Regions from separate parts of the Homo sapiens genome. Here region 1 is linked to region 2. The links are contacts of gene promoters, found by promoter capture Hi-C in blood cells and fetal thymus (Javierre and others, 2016). All regions are on one chromosome and are shown on one strand. Each heading gives the region's core, a stretch centred on a gene start or on the middle of the fragment in contact. The rest is flanking DNA. Distances are from core to core; before and after follow the strand shown. Region 1 overlaps PRPF40A (pre-mRNA processing factor 40A). Region 2 holds the start of RBM43 (RNA binding motif protein 43).

Evidence for each region. The method cuts DNA at HindIII sites, captures the fragments that hold promoters and counts their contacts. A CHiCAGO score of 5 or more calls a contact.
Region 1: a contact is called between a fragment that was not itself captured here and the fragment with the promoter of RBM43 in region 2, in 4 of 17 cell types (non-activated CD4 T cells, total CD8 T cells, total B cells and 1 more). The highest score is 7.5, in non-activated CD4 T cells.

What each region holds. Positions count from the first base shown.
Region 1 is chr2:152,665,978-152,668,871 of GRCh38, reverse strand. The region is part of intron 16 of PRPF40A (pre-mRNA processing factor 40A); the gene reads left to right. Among named protein-coding and RNA genes, the nearest start is that of PRPF40A, 50 kb to the left of the region's middle. The HindIII fragment of the contact is 185 bases long and covers 1,446-1,630 here.
Region 2 is chr2:151,260,457-151,263,156 of GRCh38, reverse strand. It overlaps RBM43 (RNA binding motif protein 43), which reads left to right and starts at 1,294. Exons shown (of 4, transcript NM_198557.3): 1 at 1,294-1,432. The coding sequence starts at 1,430. RefSeq lists an enhancer at 1,211-1,440 and a silencer at 1,481-1,750. The HindIII fragment of the contact is 8,034 bases long and covers 1-2,700 here.

The DNA.
Region 1 (2,894 bases), core at 289-2,788, 1.4 Mb before region 2:
ACTGCTAAGGTATAGTTTGGGGATGGGCCATAATTTCTTAAACACTAAGAAAAGGACCTGGGATTGCATGTTTTTTAGGTAGTAGTTCGTTTTCATCTTCAAGTATCATTTTTATTTTCAGTGATAGAAAATATCATGGAGCAATGAATTTTTTGCATTTCATATCTCACCTATTTCAATAATTATAATAGCTAATATTCTTTGATTGCTTACTGTCAATACAATTTACATTTGTAATCTCAATTTTTATGACAGTCTTACCTTATAAGGGTACTTACTGTTTTTGTTATATAAGTTTATATAACTAAGGAAATGGAGAGGTGAAGTGACTTGCCCAAGTTCAACAGCTGCTGAATAGTGAAGCCAGAATTTGAATCCATGCAGTTTTGATTACAGGGTCTCTTCCATTAACCATTGTATTAGGATAAATGCTAGGTTACAATGGCTTAAATAAGTTTTTTTCTTGAAGTAACAGTCTTTTTGGTCTAGGGCAGGGCATATTGCCATCCCTTAAGGCAGTGGTTCTCAAAATTCAGTGTATCAGAATGAAGTGGAGGATTTTTAAAAAATTTCTTCTGGCCGGGCACGGTGGCTCATGCCCATAATCCCAGCACTTTGAGAGGCTGAGGCTGGCAACTGCTTGAGTCCAGAAGTTCAAGACCAGCCTGGGTAACACGATGAAACCCGGTCCCTACTAAAAATACAAAATAATAATAATAATAATTAGCCGGGTGTGGTGGTGCATGCCTGTAGTCCCAGCTACTCAGGAGGCTGAGGTGGGAGAACCTGAGCCCAGGAGGTCAAGGCTGCAGTGAGCTGCGATGGTGCCACTGCACTCTAGACTGTGCAAAAGAGCGAGATCCTGTCTCCAAAAAAAAAAATTATTCGCGCTATGCCAAAGGTTACTGTGTTAAACGTCACAGCCAGTAGAAAGATTTCAGTCCTTATTCAATGAAAACTTAACATTTACTACTCTTGATAGGTTCCTTTATCTTAGTGACTTTCTAGACTTGATCATGTTCTACAACGGTTAAAAACACAAATTGTTTAGCCTTACCTGAAGAATTTGAATTAGTAAGTCTGGGGTGGAGTCTGAAAATTTCATTTCTAAATTTCCAGGTGATATTGATACTGTTGGACCATAGTTTGAGAACCAGTGCGCTAGCATGTTAACCTTCTCTGCAGAGTTAGGGGTATGCTGCCCCCATTTCACATTTTAACTTGGAAAAAGTAGAAAGAACAGTTCTTCTTAAAGCTAATGATGTAGAAGTTCTGCTCACCTCCTTCATTTGGGTTCAGTTGCTGAGAATTTAGTCACAGGGCCACAACTAGCTACACAAAGGAGGCTAGAAAACTTAGCTTTTAGCTAAGCAGCCATGTGCCCAGAAAGAAGGGGAGGACAGATTCTTAGGAGGGCTATTATACACTCTTCCACAACTTAAGCTTTAATGTCTCTGATGAAGGTTTTGCAGTGGTTTAAAATAAGGAGACATATATGAAAAAATAATAATACAGTGAAAATAAGGTCTGGGTCATAGAAAATACGAGACTATAATGTAAACAATATTGAAGATGGAGACTGTGAGGCAAAATTTTGATGTGAAGGCTGTTACGGTTCCTTAAATAAGCTTAAATGTGGCTTTGAATCAGATTGCTATGTGTCTGGCATAGTTTCTGATTACTACTAATATAATTGGTGTTAAGTATGTTGTATTAATATTCTTTCAGATATTCAGCCTGGTAATTTTCCTGTTGTGCTATTTCAAAAGATTTATTTAGGACTTTAGTGAAATGAATTAAAAGAGAAGATTGGCATTAGACAATAAAAGATCATTAATGGAGAGCTTCTCAGTAGTTATGATTATGATGATGACTAGCTTTTTATTTAGTGTTCATTTGCTAATCAGAAAATTCATCATGTCTGTGACAAGGAAACTATGATCTTGTTTTTCTTATGTCTTAAAACTGGTATTTGAAGTCAGTTTTGTCTGGAAAGGATTGATCTGAGGCTTTCAAGGAGAACCAGAGGAATGTATAGTGTCTCAGAAGCCAAGAGTTTGGAATTTTAAGATAGAGCATGATCCCCAAATGCACAGAATCAGTATCACCTGGGAAATTATGAAAATGCATATTCTCAAACTCCACGTCAGACTTACAGAATCAGATTCTGGAAATGGGACCTAACAATATGATTTTTTTAAACAGTCCTTCAAATGAGTCTTTGAGAAACCCCTGAGGTAAAGGAATCCACCTAAAGTAACATGTTAAGAAATTTTTATGGAATGAGGACTGAAAGAATACTGTTAAGGGTGGCATTTAAGGTGTTAAGAGTGGCATTTAAGGTGTTTAGTGACCATTGGCATGGTAGGGAAAGTTAAAGGTCTGCCAAATAGTTGAAAGATATTCAATAAGGTAAAATTCAAATAAGCTTGCAGTTAAGAGAAAGGCTTTTCTTGGGTAAGAGGAAACCAGTTAAGAGGGAGAGAATGAAGGAAGAATTGAAAAATAAGGGTGAGTCTCATTAAACAACATCTCGGAAAGTTGGGAATTCAAGCATATATATGAATACAGTTACATTGAGAACAGTATATAAGAGAACAAAAAGAAGGATGAAGATGGAGAAAAATTAATACCGATTTGGATCTAAGACAGTGGTGCTCAACCAAGAAAGATTTTGTGATTGTCACTATTTGTGGGGAACATGCTACTGGCATCTAGTGTGTAGAGGCGAGAGATGCTGATAAACATCCTGCAATGTACAGGGCTCAAACATACCCCGCCCTCAACCAAGAGAAAGAAAGAAAAAAAAATTACGTCATCCAAGATGTCATTAGTGCCACGGGAAGAAGAAACATCAAGCTCAGCCATCTTTGAAGCAACTTGCTTTCCATAAT
Region 2 (2,700 bases), core at 45-2,544:
CCATCTATGCTTGCAGCAACTCTGATGCTTACATTCAGGCTAACACTTTCTGGTTTTGCAGATCTAGTTGTGAAAAATGGTATCTTATTATTTCAATTTACATTTCTTAGGAGTGGGATTGGGTTTCTTCATATCTGCTAGCCATCTACCTTTGTTCTTCATGCATTCATTGATTTGATTTTGAAGTTTGTCCAGAGATTCCCTGTGTCCCCACAGGCGCCATTCGGGGTTCCTGTGCTAAGGCATGGACAAGGTGGTGAGCTCTCTGCTGGCAGGGACCTGGCGCTCTCATCCTGTGTCCTTAGCACCCGGCAGAGGTCCAAGAGGGCTCCTGGTCTGGGCTGGGAAGGTGACCAACACGGCGTTGGGGGTTGAGGTGGGGGTTGGGGAACTGGGGTAGGTTGTGCAGAGGAAAAGGCCCAGGTGAGCGGTGGGGGAAGGGGAAGAAGTCTGGACAGATAATAAGGGCGTAGGAAAGACATCCAGATTTCACTGAGTGCAGGGCTTTTTAAAACTGATGTTAGAAAAACTTGATTTGCTGTTGTAAAAAACCATCTGTGTGAAGTAGAAATTGATATCAATAACATGATAGAGAATACGTTCTAAAAAGTAAAGGTAGCTGGATGTAAAATTCTGGCAGAAGTTTAATATCCTAGATGGTTAGTTTGAGGCCAGCAACTAATGAGGATAAAAGCCTTCTCCATGGAAAATTTTGGACAGTTATCTGGAGAAATATTACAGTGCGCATCAACCAAATTGAAATGTTTTCAAAAGTGTTGTAAAGTTTCATGTAGTAAAAAGGTTTTAGCCACATGCCCTTCAATTTCATGGCATCGAATATATAAACACAGAAGAGAGCATGCATGCAAGATATTTAACTCCCTTACATGATAATGCATGCGATTCAAAACTATCATGACATCTAGGGCTCTCTGCAACTACGAGATGATTGATGTTAGGAAAAGCGTAGCCCCCCAGTATCAACACAGGAAGCGGCCACCACCTACTATGTGTTTTCCCTTTTTGCGTTTTTTCTTTTTTTAAATCAACTCTGCCGTTGTTGCTGCTGCTTAGCAAAACGGGTAAAAACAAAATTGCAATCACTGATGCATCACCCAGAGAATTCCCAAATTTCCTGTCGAGGAATCCTCTCGGCCTCTCTCCAGAGTGCTTCCACAAGTTGCAAAACTACGGAGGGCGTCTGGGCAGGCGCTGGCAACAGCACTCCTGAGTCCGAGCTCCCACTCAGAGGCCACGAGGTCGCAGAACAGCCGGATCGGGTGGAAGGACCGCCCTTTTCTTCGTAGCCTCCAAGGGAGCTGGAACAAAAAACGAAACCAAAACCTGCCTGCTCGCTCCTCTCCCCATCGCCTGCGTTCCGCTGGTTGTGGGCTTTCTGCGGCCGCTGAGGGCGCGTCTCCCCTCCGCCATGGCAAGTTGCTTTTGCTTTGGGTTTTGCGGTGCAGGTCCGTGCCTGTACCGTCGCCATGGTCCCCTAGAAGGGCGCGGAACCGGGCGCGACGGGCCAGGGTGCAGGGCTGCGCGGGAGGGGGCGGCGCACGGAGGGGCCCCAGGGACCCCGGGGGCCCCGGAGAGCCGTCCACCCCGGCGGGCAAACTCAGGTCAGCCTCGCTGCACCCTTCCCAGGTGGCGGCATTGCGCGCTCCTGAAATTCACGTACGGCGGTGCAGTATAGGCCCGCTCCAGAGGCTCAGGACTAGGCTGTCACCTCCCACACCCACTGCCCAGGCGACGGGGACGCCGCCGTTCGTCGAGGAGCTGCTTCGCAGGCTGTTAGGGCTTAACTGTTGTCCTCCCACGCCTCGGGGGGAACAAAAGTGGCCTGATTAGCCAGAAATGGAGGTCACAGCTGCCTTTTGAAAAGGGCTAATAAGAACGATTCGAGCCAAGGACGCAAGTCAGGAAGACATCCTCATGTCTTATGTCTGCCTTGGTGCGAATTCTTGTCTTAGCAAATTCAAAATTTATCCTTCTGTGTTTTGTTTTGTTTCCATCAATCGCTTAAAAGCCTTGGCAAGGCCTTTAATTCCTGCTCTGAAATGCTAGAGTCCCGGAAATGCAAAAGCAAGTACGTTTTTGTTGACCTGGTGGCGGTAGAGGCGTCGTCATTGAAAATAAACAACTGATTTTGAGAAAATCAATATAAACAAATGCAGTCAATGAATCTTCTGTTTCTTCCCAATGCCTTACTTACAAAAGTAAAGTTTTGCTATATACTTTTTGCTTTCTGATAAGATGGCCAAGTCTGTTATAACACAATACTGATGCAAGGAAATGCGCCATCACGTTAGTATGTCTTGGCTAAAAGCTGCTCGTTTCAAAGTCCTTGAAAGGACTGTCTTTCTCTAGGCATTTCTTTATCTTAATCGTGGGTAGAAGAGATGAACAACCCTCATTATTCATAATTGACCTCAGTAAAATTATCTATGTTAGCCATACTTTCTCCAACCTATGAAAGGGAGTTAAGGACAAATATTGGCAAGTCATTGAAGTACTAATTCATTAGATGATTCATAGAAACTAGTTCTTACCAAACAAAATTTACATCTTTATGTTTTTTTCTTCTAAAAATACTGGTTCAGGGAGAAGTTTCTTTGATTTTAAAGATAAATTACCAGTAGACATTCGAATAAAGAAATATGGTATTAGTACTAATGAGGGCATAGAGCTGAAGTAAGA